4 separate regions of the Homo sapiens genome follow, and regions 2, 3 and 4 are each linked to region 1. Evidence: promoter capture Hi-C in human tissues and cell types (Jung and others, 2019). All regions are on one chromosome and are shown on one strand. The core of a region is centred on a gene start or on the middle of the fragment in contact, and the rest is flanking DNA. Distances in the headings are between cores, read along the strand shown. Region 1 holds the start of CDK5RAP1 (CDK5RAP1 mitochondrial tRNA methylthiotransferase). Region 2 overlaps ZNF341-AS1 (ZNF341 antisense RNA 1). Region 3 overlaps ZNF341 (zinc finger protein 341). Region 4 overlaps ZNF341 (zinc finger protein 341).

Region 1 (3,227 bases), core at 304-2,803:
CCAGGGAGGCAGAGATTGCAGTGAGCTGAGATTGCGCCACCACACTCCAGCCTGGGCAACAGAGAGAGAGAGAACTTGTCTCAAAAAAAAGGAAATGGAATGCACAAACTAGATGCCTTGCATATACGCAGTTCACAATAGGGTTTGTGTTCCTGAGAAACTAATTCCGTGGCCAATCTGACGGGAGGCAGAGCTCAGGCAGTAATGCCAGCTTTGCTGCTCACCTCCTGCTGTGCAACCCGGTTCCTCACAGGCCACAGACAGGTACCATTCTACCACCTAGGGTTAGGGGAACCCTGCTATACACGTGTAAAGAGCAGATGTGGCCCATTACCTTTCCAATGAGATGACCTGCCACATCTGCTACTAGCACTTAGGAGCAATGCCAACCCAGTTTCAAGAGTCAGAGAAGAACAGCCTTAAAGTGTGAACTTTAAAATCGCCCCTTTCTACTCCATAATTGCTGTGTGACCTTTGGCAAGACAAATTTCTGTCTCTGAGCCGCCAATTCCACATGTGTAAAATAAGGATAAAAGCAGCACCTACCACCCCATAAGTGTTATTAAGAATAAGATATTAAAAACCCAACTTGAGATACAGTAAGCGTTCACTAACTGCACATTTACAGCCCACACCCCCTTTCACAGAGAGTATTAGAGCATCCTGGTTAAGAGTATGAACTCCACTAAAAATACAAAACTTAGCCGGGTGTGGTGGTATGCGCCTGTAATCCTAGCTACCCAGGAGGCTGAGGCAGGAGAATCGCTGGAACTCGCGGGGCAGGGGCTACAGTGAGCCGAGATCGCGTCACTGCACTCCAGCCTGGGCGACAGAGCAAGACTCCCGTCTCAAGAAAAAAAAAGTATGGACCCTGGAGTCAGAATCTGACCCCACTGCTGCCAAGCCAGCTAAACCTTAGGCACCTGTCTTAAACTCTGGGAGCCTCTAGATGGGGATAATAGCACCTATCTCCATAAGCCTACCGTAGGATCAAATGCAATAATACAAGCAAAATGCTTTGCATAACGCAATGTAGAAGCCTCTCTGGAGGCTCGAAATTAATTCTGACAGTCGGCAATGAGGCTGGAACAACAGCGTACAACATCCCAAACATTTTATTGGCTGGTTACAATGCGTTAGGCATGGTGCAAAGCATTTTCCGCGAATTATTACCTATAACCCTCATAGCAACCCTGTGAGGCAGGCTGTACTGTCAACCCCACTTCACGGGTGGCGAAGCGAAGCCTTGAAAGAAGTGGAGGTGACCTGTCCAAGGTCACACGGGGTTAGGCGGCGGGGTTAGGGTACGAACCCCTACAGCCTGACGCCAGGCCCCACGCCATAACCACCGTGCCATCCTCCCTCTTGAACACCGTGCGCTTCCCGGGATCCGCGGCCCCTCCTGCCCCAGGCGCCAGTCAAAAGCGGGTGCGCAGCCCACCCCGGCGGCCGCGCTGCTCACCTCCCGCAGCAGCAACAGTGCCCGGGGTCCCGCAGCGTAAGTTCTGCCGGCAAGTCGGATCCCCTCACAGGTCCGCCGCTGCGTTCATACACAAGCGACTTCCGTTCCGCCGCTACTTCAGGCCGGGTCATGCTAACGGAAGTGCTTCCTTTTTACAGTCCGGGTGGACCCAAAGCTCCGTGGCGGTGCTGAACTTTAGGGCAGCCACTAGCCACGGACTTAAGCGGCAATTGAGCTCCTCAAAGTGGGTGAGTGCAAATCAAATGTGCGCTAAATGTCAGATACACTGGATGTGGAAGAAGAAATGTCAAATAGTGTCAAATAGTTCATATATATAATGTTTATATTGATTATGTGCTGCAATAATTGTTGGGATATATTGGATTAAATAAGTACATTTGTTGAATTAGTTTTTTTTATTTGTAGCTATGGTGGTAGAAATATTTGAATTAAGTTCACCTGTTGTTTCTTTTTACTTTTTCAATGTGGCTAGCAGGGGGAAAAATAATATGGTGTGATCATGGCTCACTGCAGCTTCCGCCTCCCATGCTAAAGCAATCCTCCCACCTCACACTCCCAAGTGGCTGGGACTACAGGCAGGCGCCACCACGCCCAGCTAAAATTTTTTTAATTTTTTTGTAGAGACCGGTCTCCCCATGTTGCCCAGGCTGGTCTCAAACTCCTACCTAGGCGCAAGCCATCCTCCCACCTTGGCCTCCCAAAGTGCTGGGATTGTAGGCATGAGCCACCGTGTCCGGTCCTTACTGGGAAATTTTAAGTCACCTAAGAGGTTCACGCTCTATTTCTATTGGAGGGTGCTGCCCTGTAGGTTAATGACTTCCTGATTCACATCTCCAGCTGGACCCTCCCTGCAGTACCAGAGCCATAGCTCAGCTGCCTACTTGACACCCCTTCTTGAGTGTCTGATGACCATCTCTAACTTATACAGAACTCTTCATTTCCACACATGCACCTTCACCAAAAACCTGTACCTGTCATTCTGGCCCATCTCAGTAAATGGCCCAACCATCCTTCCAGGTGCACTAGGAGGAACTGAATGGTCATTTTCTTCACCTCCCTGGATCCCCACATTCTATCTGTCAGTAAGCCCTGTCAACTCTAACTCCAAAATGTCAAATCTGTCTACTCGGTAGCTACAACTACCCAGGCCACCATTGTCTCATCAGAAACAATCACAGTAGCCTGCTAATGGTCACCTTGTCTCCTGAGAACAGTTTCCCACACATAGCCTAAGGGAATTTGTGTTTGTTTTATTAAATCAAATTATATCACCCCTCTCCTGAAAACTCTCCGTGGCAGGCCGGGCGTGGTGGCTCACATCTGTAATCCCAGCACTTTGGGAGGCCAAGATGGGCAGATTGCTTGAGCCCAGGAGTTCTAGACTAGCCTGAGCAACATGATAAAACCCCATCTCTACAAAAAACACAAAAATTACCCCGGCATGGTGGTGGGTACCTGTGGTCCCAGCTACTCAGAAGGCTGAGGCAGGGAGGATTGCTTGAGCCAGGGAAGTTGAGGCGGCAGTGAACCATGACCTCAACACTGCACTCCAGCCTGGGTACCAGAATGAGACCATGTCTTGAAAAAGAAAAAAACAAAAACAGCCGGGCACGGTGGCTTATGCCTGTAATCCCAGCACTTTGGGAGGCTGAGGTGGGTGGATCATGAGGTCAGGAATTCGAGACCAGCCTGGCCAATATGGTAAAACCCCGTCTCTACTAAAAATAAAAAATAAAAAATAGCT
Region 2 (3,227 bases), core at 501-3,000, 400 kb after region 1:
TTTATTATTATTATTATTTTGTATAGCTGGGGTGTCACTATGTTACCTAGGCTGGTCTTGAACTCCTGGGCTCCTGCGATCCTCCTGCCTTGGCCTCCCAACGTGCTGGGATTACAGGCATGAGCCACAGGGCCTGGCCTCATTCCTTTGCATTTGGATACCCAGCTGTCTTAGCACCATTTGTTGAAAAGACTATGCTTCCCCCATTTAATGGTCTTAGCACACTTGTTGAAAATCAATTGACTATAGATGTATAGGTTTATTTTTGTACTCTTGACTCTATTCAATTGATCGATAAACTTCTTTATTGTAGCTTTGCAGTAAGTTTTGAAATCAGGACATGCGAATCTTTCAACTTTATTTTTCTTTTTGAATATTGTTTTGACTATTCAGGGTCTCTTGCGATTCCATATGAGGTGTGGGATAAACTTGTCCATTTCTGCAAAAAATGCAGCTCAGATTTTGAAAGACTTGTATTGAATCTGTTGAGCAATTTGGAGAGTGTTGCTGTCTTAACAATTAAGTCTTCTAATCCATGGACATGGAATGTGTTTCCATTTATTTATGTCTTCCTTGATTTCTTTCAACAAGGTTTGGTACTTTTCAGAGGACAAGCCTTTCCTTTCCGTGGTTAAATTTATTGCTAAATGTTTTATTATTTTTGATGCTATTGTAAATGGAAATGATTCTTAATATCATTTTCATATTGCTCGTTGCTAATGTACAGAAATACAACTGATTTTTGTGTGTTGATATTGTTGAACTTTGCTGAACTCATTTTAGTTCTAATAGCTTTCTGTGTATTCTTTAGGTTTTTCTCTATATGAGATCATGTCATCTACAAATAGAAATAGTTTTACCTCTGCTTTTCCAATCTGGATGCCTTTTATTTATTTTTCTTGCTTAATTGCCCTGGCAAGAACTTTCAGTACAATGTTGATTGGAAGTGATGAGAGTAGGCATCCTTATCTTATTCCTGATCTTAGGGGGAAAGCTTTCGGCCTTTGTCTTCACCATTAAGTGTGATGTTAGCTGTGGGTTTTGCACAGATGCCTTTTACCAGGTTGAGAAGTTCTCTCCTCTTCCTAGTTGGCTGAGTGTTTCAGGTTTTGTTTTTTTGTTTGTTTGTTTTTTGTTTAATCAGGAGAGAATGTTGGATGAACTCTTTTTTACAACTAAAAATCAGCGAAGTCCTCTGTATTTAATTTGGTATAATTATGTGAGACCAAGTTTCATAATTAAGGTTTTATTTCATAATTTTTTTGATTTTTTGGGACAGAGTTTCACTCTTGTTGCCCAGACTGGAGTGTGATGGTGTGATCTCGGCTCACCGCAACCTCCGCCTCCCAGGTTCAAGCAATTCTCCTGCCTCAGCCTCCCGAGTAGCTGGGATTACAGGCATGCACCACCACGCCTGGCTAATTTTGTATTTTTAGTAGAGATGGGGTTTCTCCATGTTGAGGCTGGTCTCAAACTCCTGTCGTCAGGTGATCCGCCCATCTCGGCCTCCCAAAGTGCTGGGATTACAGGCGTGAGCCACCGTGCCCGGCCTCATTTCATAATTAATGTTTTCAAAGAAGGTTACAAATATATGGCTGGGTATCTTTAACCATGTGACTTTAGTCAATTCCTACTTCTTTGGGCCTCAGTTTCCTCAACTGTAAAATGGAGGTGGATAGTAATGCTTACTTCATGGGGCTTAGAGGGATGATGGAGATAAGATGGGATTTTTGTGTGCAAAGGCACTTTGCAAATAAAAACTATTCTTCTGTTGCTGCTCTTATTAGAGATACTTTGTGTGTGTATTTTTGTTGTTGTTGTTCGTTTCTTTTTTGAGACAGGGTCTCCCTCTGTTGCCCAGGCTGGAGTGCATTGGCGTCATCATAGCTCACTGTAGCTTTGAACTCCTGGGCCCAAGCAATTTTTCCACCTCAGCTTCCCAAGTAGCCCAGACTACAGGCTTGCACCACCATGCCTGGCTAATTTTTAAATTTTTTTCTAGAGAAGAGATCTCACTATGTTGCCCAGGATGGTGTTGAACTGTGGCCTCAAGCAATCCTCCCACCTTGGTTTCCCAAAGTGCTGAGATTACAGGCATGAGCTGCCATGCCCAGCTAGAGATGTTATTTATTTATTTATTTATTTATTTACTTATTTACTTATTTTTGAGATGGAGTCTTGCTATGTCGCCCCGGCTGGAGTGCAGTGGCATGATCTCGGCTCACTGCAACCTCCACTTCCTGGGTTCAAGTGATTCTCCTGCCTCAGCCTCCTGAGTGGCTGGGATTACAGGTGTGCACCACCATGCTTGGCTCATTTTCGCATTTTTTAAGTAGACTTGGGGTTTCACCATGTTGGCCAGGCTGGTCTCGAACTCCTGAGCTCAAGTGATCCATCCACCTCGGCCTCTCAAAGTGCTAGGATTACAGGCATGAGCCACCATGCCCAGCCTGGAGATGTTGTTTTAAATTGTAATATAACATGTTTAATAAAGTACATAAGATACATAAAGGGCAATCGTCTTAAGTATAAAAACTGATTAATTTGTATACAGCCATGTGAACACCTCTGGATCCTGCTATTGAACCTGTTAGCACCTTGTAAGGGTCCTCTTCCTGGTCTGTACCTCCCTGGAGGTAACCATTATTCTGATTCCTAACACCATGGATTAGTTTTGCCTGTTTTTGAGCTTCGTATATATGGAGTCATACAAGCTTTTGTATCTGGTTTCTTTCACTCAGCATAATATCTGTGAGTCATCCAAATTCTTGCATGTATCAGTGGCTCATTCTTTTTCACACAGTTTTGAATAAGTTAATACGAGTTGGTCAAAGTTTGAAAAGGCTGTGCATTTGTCTGAGAGACCAGAAAAATACAGGCCAGCAAAGCCCAGGGCTCTCCAGTATTGAGCCAGTCCACTCTGTGAATCTCTATTTATGGCAGCTGAATTCTCAGCCAGGATGGCAGCTACTTTGCCCATGTGTCACCACTTCCCATCCCATACCCTGGGTAGACATCACAAATCCATCTTGAGCACTTTTTTTTCTTTTTTTGAGACAGTGTCTCACTCTGTCACTCAGGCTGGAGGGCAGTTGCATGTTCACAGCTCACTGCAGCCTCAACCTCCTGGGCTCAAGTGATCCTCCTGCCTCAGCCTCTCGAATAACTGGGACCATAGGTGTGTGCCACCATGCCCAGGTAATTTTTAATTATTTCTTGAGACTGAG
Region 3 (3,227 bases), core at 405-2,904, 370 kb after region 1:
AAGATTGTGCCACTGCACTCCATCCAGCCTGGGTGACAGAGAGAGAGACTCCGTCTCAAAAAAGAAAAAAGAGAAAAATAAGATTTATTGATTTTTTCCCCCAATTGCAAAAGTCAATGTTCAATGCAGAGAAAACAATTTTGTAAAAACCCACACAAAAACAAAAAACCAAAACTGTCACCCAGAGATCGCCACTGCACTATTAACCTCTTGGTGGATATCCTTTGGCATATATGTGTAATAAATATGTTTACAGATATGGATACAGATATAAATATCACAGACTATATTTGAGTCAGGTGATGCCAAATAGAGTCACTGAATTTGGTGAAAATTCATCACACTGTCTTCCTGTAGCGCAATGTCCAACAAACAGACTGATTTAATGGGATCACTGCACATGTGGTTTTATCACTTAAAACTTTTTCACTTAAAACAGTAATATAGCTGGGCATGGTGGCTTATGCCTGTAATCCTAGCACTGTGGGAGGCCGAGGCAGGCAGATCACTTGAGGCCAGGAGTTCAAAACCAGCCTGAGCAACATGATGAAACCTTGCCTGTACAAAAAATACAAAAATTAGCCAGGCATGGTGGCATGTGCCTGTAGTCCCAGTTACTTGGGAGGCTGAGCTGGATTGCTTGAGTCCAGGAGTTCAAGGCTGCAGTGAGCCGTGATCATGCCACTGCACTCGTGAGACCCTGTCTCGGGGAAAAACAAAAACATCAGTAATATGGACATCTTTGCATTTCAGCAACAATAGACCTGCCTCATTCTTTAAACAGCTACTTTGTATTCCATTGTGCATGGTGTACTGTGATTTACTTCTGTCATCTCCCATTGTTGGTTAGTGAGGTTATTTTCAGTTTGTCATCAGTATAACAATTATACAGGGAACAACTTCGGAAGTACATCTTTGCTCTTTTCTAAGTTCCTAGAAGTGATTTTGCAGGTCAGAGTTGAAAGGGTTTTGTTTTTTTTTTTTTTTGAGATGGAGTCTCGCTCTGTTGCCCAGGCTGGAGTGCAATGGCAGGATCTCAGCTCACTACAACCTTCGCCTCCCAGGTTCAAGTGATTCTCCTGCCTCAGCCTTTCTAGTAGCTGCGACTACAAGGCACCTGCCACCATGCCCCGCTAATTTTTTGTATTTTTAGTAGAGACGGGGTTTCACCATGTTAGCCAGGATGGTCTCGATCCCTGACCTCGTGATCTACCCACCTCGGCCTCCCAAAGTGCTAGGATTACAGGTGTGAGCCACCGTGCCCGGCCTTTTTTTTTTTTTTTTAAAGATTAATTATCTACTTCAAAAACTATATGTATACAGTGCAATATTGTAAAACTATCACAGGACATAGAGTGAACAGGAATTCTCCATCCACTGTGACCCACTTCCCCATATCACGGGCAATCATGTTCGAAAAGTGTTCTTTGTAAACCTCTTATTTTGTCATAATTTTATTATTGATTGATTGATTTTTGAGACAGGATCTTGCTCAGTCACCCAGGCTGGAGTACAGTGGCACAATCATGGCTTGCTGTAGCCTTGACTTCCCTGGCTCAAACAATCCATCCCCCTCAGCCTCCTGAGTAGCTGGGACTACAGGTGTGTGCCACCACTGCCAGCTAATTTTGGTATTTTTTGTAGAGACAGGGTCTTGCTATATTGCCCAGGCTGGCCTAGAACTCCAAGGCTCAAGCAATCCACCCTCCTCAGCCTCCCAAAGTACTAGGATTACAGGCATAAGCCACCATGCCTGGCCTTCAATATATGTGTTTTAAAGCTTTCCTTTGTTTCATGAATTTAACTTATGTATGTATTTTAATTTTAATATAATTAATTAATTAATTTTTTGTTTAGAGACAGGGTCTCACTCCATCACCAAGGCTGGAAAGCAGTGGCATGATCATGGCTCACTGCAGCCTTGACCCTTGACCTCCCCAGTCTCAGGTGATTCTCCCACCTCAGCCTCCTGGGTAGCTGGGACTACAAGCATGCACCACCATGCCCATCTGATTTTTTTTTTTAAACTTTTTGTAGAAACAGGGTTTCGCCATATTGCTCAGGCTTGTCTCAAATTCCTGGGCTCAAGTGATCCTCCTACCTTGGCCTCCCAAAGTGCTGGGATTACAGGCATGAGCCACTGCACCTGGCCTTTTTTTTTTTTTGAGACAGGATCTCACTCTGTCACCCAGGCTAGAGCACAGTAGCATGATCACAGCTCACTGCAGCCTTCGCCTCCGGGGCTCAAGCAATCCTCCAGCTCAGCCTCCTGAGTAGCTGGGACCACAGGTGTGTGCCACCAGGCCTGGCTAATTTTTTATTTTTTATAAAGATGGAATTTCACCATGTTGACCAGACTGGTCTGGAACTCCTGGGCTCAAGCGGTCCACCTGCCTTGTTCTCCCAAAGGTCTGGGATTATAGGCGTGAGCCACACACCTGGCCAATTTTTATTTTTTTAGAGACAGAGTCTCACTGTGTTGTCCAGTCTAGAGTGCATCAGCTATTCACAGGTGTGGTCGCCTTGCCTCAGCCTCCCCAGTAGCTAGGACTACAGGCAGGCGCCATCACTCCTAGGTAAATTTGTTTGTTTGTTTGTTTGTAGAGACAGGGTCTTACTGTGTTGCCCAGGCTGGTCTTGAACTCCTGGCCTCAAGTGATCCTCCTGCCTGGCCTTCCCAAAGTGCTGGGATTACAGGCGTAAGCCATCACACCTGGCCTGTATTTCCTAAAAACAAGGATAACCTCTTCCATAAGGGCAATATACTATAGTTACCAAAATCAGGAAGTTGGGCTCTGTGCGGTGGCTCATGCCTGTAATCCCAGCACTTTGGGAGGCTGAGGTAGACAGATTGCTTGAGCCCAGAAGTTTGAGACCAACCTGGACTACGTGGCAAAACCCCGTCTTTACCAAAAAAAAAAAAAAAAAAAAAAAGAGGTGGGTATGGTAGCATATGCCTGTGGTCTCAGCTGCTCAGGAGGCTGAGGCAGAAGAATTGCTTTAGCCCGGGAGGTACAGGTTGCAGTGAGCTGAGATCGCACCACTGCACTCCCGCCTGAAGGACAGAGTGAGACCCTATCTCAAAAAAAAAAAAAAAAAAAAAAAAAAATCAGGCCAGGTGCGGTGGCTCACACCTGTAATCCCAACACTTTGGGAGGCTGAGGTGGGCGGATCACCTGAAGTCAGGAGTTCGAGACCAGCCTGGCCAACATGGCGAAATGCCGTAT
Region 4 (3,227 bases), core at 297-2,796, 340 kb after region 1:
CCTCAGGTGATCCACCCTCCAAGGCCTCGCAAAGTGCTGGGATTACAGGCATGAGCCACTGTGCCTGGCCACCTGTGTGGCTTCGAAAACTCCCAGGAAGCACATAGTTGATGGCTGACACCTGCATGTCAAGTCGCAGCATGCCCCCCAGATTGCTGCTTGTGGTCAGCTGCAGTTCTCCTGTCTCATACTGTGATGCCCCTTGACATAGTCTTGCTTTTTTTTCATTACTTTACCTTCATCTGTGGCCTCTTCCCACTACTCTGCGGGTATGACCCCAGATGACGAGGATGTATTTCTCTGCGGGAAGTGTAAGAAGCAATTCAACTCGCTGCCAGCGTTTATGACCCACAAGCGGGAACAGTGCCAGGGGAATGCCCCCGCCCTGGCCACAGTCTCACTGGCCACCAACAGCATCTACCCACCTTCGGCAGCACCCACAGCGGTCCAGCAGGCCCCAACTCCTGCCAATCGCCAGGTATTTGTTCATTTATTCATTCAACATGTCTTTTTTGAGGGCCTAACATGCTCAGGCACTGTGCTGGGCACTGGGGCTATAGCAATGGATAAGACAGACCAAGTCCCTGCCCTTGTGGAGTGGGGCGAGATGGATGGTGCACATGTACTGTTTTCAGCATGTTAAATGCGGAGAGATAGGGGATGCCAGACGGGGATGGGAGGTTTTGCCATATTGTCTATCGTGCTTGGGGAAGAGCTCTGTGAAGAGGTGACCAGGAAGAATACTATATAGCAGGTAAAAGGTTTTGTATGAAAAATCAAATTGTAGAATAATAAGTAGATAATATATTATTATTTTTAAAATCTGAAACAATAGTACTATATAATTTCCGCAGTTACTTAAATAAGTAGGAAGAACATACCAGATAGACCTAAGGAGGTGTGGGAATGAGTTATGCGGCTGGTTTGGGGAAGGAAGCAGGAGCCAGGTGCAGGGATCAGCAGATGCAGAGGCCTTGAGGCAGGAGTGTGCTGGGTTTGTTCCAGAACTATAAGGAGGTGAGAGTGGCTGGGACTGAGTAAGTAGGAAGGTGGGAGGTGCTAGGAGAGGCAGCAGGAGGGTCTTGGCAGATCGTGTAGGGTCTGGGCCTTTTTTTTTTTTTTTTTTTGAGACGGAGTCTTGCTCTGTTGCCCAGGCTGGAGTGCAGTGGCGCCATCTCGGCTCACCGCAAGCTCCGCCTCCTGGGTTCACGCCATTCTCCTGCCTCAGCCTCCCAAGTAGCTGGGACTACAGGTGCCCGCCACCACACCAGGCTGATTTTTGTATTTTTAGTAGAGACGGGGTTTCACCATGTTAGCCAGGATGGTCTCAATCTCCTGACCTCGTGATCTGCCCGCCTCGGCCTCCCAAAGTGCTGGGATTACAGGCGTGAGCCACCGCGCCCGGCCTTTTTTTTTTTTTTTTTTTTTTGAGACGGAGTTTCACTCTTGTTGCCCAGGATGGAGTGCAGTGGCAGGATCTCGGCTCACTGCAACCTCCGCCTCCTGGGTTCAAGTGATTCTCCTGCCTCAGCCTCCAGAGTAGCTGGGACTACAGGCGCGCACCACCACGCCCAGCTGATTTTTGTATTTTTAGTAGAGATGGGGTTTCACCATGTTGGCCAAGATATTCTCGATCTCCTGACCTTGTGATCTCCCCGCCTCGGCCGCCCAAAGTGCCAGGATAACAAGTGTGAGCCACCACACCCAGCCGCTGGGGCTTTTACTGAGAATGACATGGGAGCCATTGGAGGCTGTCAAGCAGAGGAGGGACATAGTGACTTTTATCAGGTCACTCTGGCTGCTGGACAGAGAATAGGTTTTGAGGGAGGGTGAGAGAGAAAGCCAGGAGACCCGTTGAGGGACTGTAGTGCAAATCCAGGCAGTGGATGCGGGTAGCTTGACCAGCATGTTGGCAGTGGAGGTGGTGAGAAAGTGTGAGATTTTAGAAATACTTTGAAGGTGTTGCTGATAGAACTTGTGAATTGATTGGGTGAGGAGTGTGAGATCAAGAAGGGTCACAGAGGACTCCTGATTTAGAGTTGCCACTAGCTGAAGGGAGGAGGCTGTGAGGAGAAGGTTTTGGGGGGATGTCAGGAGTTCAGCTGGGCACGTTGAAGTTGAGATGCCTGCCAACCTTTAAACGGAGGCAGTGACAAAGTAGACAATGTAGATTTCCAAGTCCGGAGGCCAGAGCAGAGGACAAGGCTGGAGGCATCTGGGGAAGCTTCCAGAGTCCTCAGCCGAAAACACGGTTCTGGAGCAAAGACACCCTGGATAGGGGGCTCATAGAAAGACTAAAGGATCCCTCATAAAGGAGGCTGGGCATATCTCAGGATGCCAGGTCAAGGGGTCAGATTTTCAACTGGCTTCCTTTTCTTTCCTTATCCCTTTAGAACATTATCTTCATTCATTGTATAGGTGTCATTTCTGCCATCACTATGAAAGCATTCACCCCAGACCCATAGGACATATAGACTGAAACAGGCATCTTCTGGCATAAAACAGTCATTTTGGCCGGGCGCGGTGGCTCACGCCTGTAATCCCAGCACTTTGGGAGGCCGAGGCGGGCGGATCACGAGGTCAGGAGATCGAGACCATCCCGGCTAAAACGGTGAAACCCCGTCTCTACTAAAAATACAAAAAATTAGCCGGGCGTAGTGGCGGGCGCCTGTAGTCCCAGCTACTTGGGAGGCTGAGGCAGGAGAATGGCGTGGACCCGGGAGGCGGAGCTTGCAGTGAGCCGAGGTCCCGCCACTGCACTCCAGCCTGGGCGACAGAGCGAGACTCCGTCTCAAAAAAAAAAAAAAAAAAAAAAAAAAAACACAGTCATTTTTCTCACTGCTTGACTGTGAGTTTTGCTAGTAGAAAATATTCCCCTCACCATCTCTTACCTTTTTTTTTTTTTTTTTGAGACAAGGTCTTACTGTCGCTCAGGCTGGCCTTGGCTCACTGCAACCTCCATCTGCCAGGTTCAAGTGATTCTCCTGCCTCAGCCTCCTGAGTAGCTGGGACTACAGACACCCGCCACCATGCCCAGCTAATTTTTGTATTTTTATTGGAGATGGGGTTTCACTGTTGGCCAGGCTGGTCTCGAACTCCTGACCTCAAGTGATCCGCCTGTCTTGGCCTCCCAAAGTGCTGGAATTACAGGCATGAGCCACCGTGCCACACCAGATATTCTTCTTGACCTAAGATACTTGTGGACTTCATGTGGACATGTGTTCAGT

Evidence for each region. The method cuts DNA at HindIII sites, captures the fragments that hold promoters and counts their contacts. A contact is called where the count stands out against the background at its distance.
Region 2: a fragment that was not itself captured here is called in contact with the fragment with the promoter of CDK5RAP1 in region 1 in 2 of the 25 tissues and cell types used here (dorsolateral prefrontal cortex and thymus).
Region 3: a contact is called between a fragment that was not itself captured here and the fragment with the promoter of CDK5RAP1 in region 1, in 2 of the 25 tissues and cell types used here (IMR-90 fibroblasts and neural progenitor cells).
Region 4: a fragment that was not itself captured here is called in contact with the fragment with the promoter of CDK5RAP1 in region 1 in 1 of the 25 tissues and cell types used here (aorta).

The regions. Positions count from the first base shown.
Region 1 is chr20:33,399,966-33,403,192 of GRCh38, forward strand. CDK5RAP1 (CDK5RAP1 mitochondrial tRNA methylthiotransferase) reads right to left here and starts at 1,554. Exons shown (of 14, transcript NM_016408.4): 1 at 1,463-1,554. It overlaps LOC124904889 (a long non-coding RNA gene), which reads left to right and starts at 1,617. Exons shown (of 2, transcript XR_007067567.1): 1 at 1,617-1,710. RefSeq lists enhancers at 1,265-1,354, 1,495-1,694. The HindIII fragment of the contact is 17,720 bases long and covers 1-3,227 here.
Region 2 is chr20:33,801,279-33,804,505 of GRCh38, forward strand. All of the region lies in intron 1 of ZNF341-AS1 (ZNF341 antisense RNA 1), which reads right to left. Among named protein-coding and RNA genes, the nearest start is that of ZNF341-AS1, 8.2 kb to the right of the region's middle. The HindIII fragment of the contact is 4,512 bases long and covers 1-3,227 here.
Region 3 is chr20:33,774,241-33,777,467 of GRCh38, forward strand. All of the region lies in intron 10 of ZNF341 (zinc finger protein 341), which reads left to right. Among named protein-coding and RNA genes, the nearest start is that of ZNF341-AS1, 35 kb to the right of the region's middle. The HindIII fragment of the contact is 6,435 bases long and covers 1-3,227 here.
Region 4 is chr20:33,744,822-33,748,048 of GRCh38, forward strand. ZNF341 (zinc finger protein 341) reads left to right here. Exons shown (of 15, transcript NM_001282933.2): 3 at 282-478. Among named protein-coding and RNA genes, the nearest start is that of ZNF341, 14 kb to the left of the region's middle. The HindIII fragment of the contact is 8,876 bases long and covers 1-3,227 here.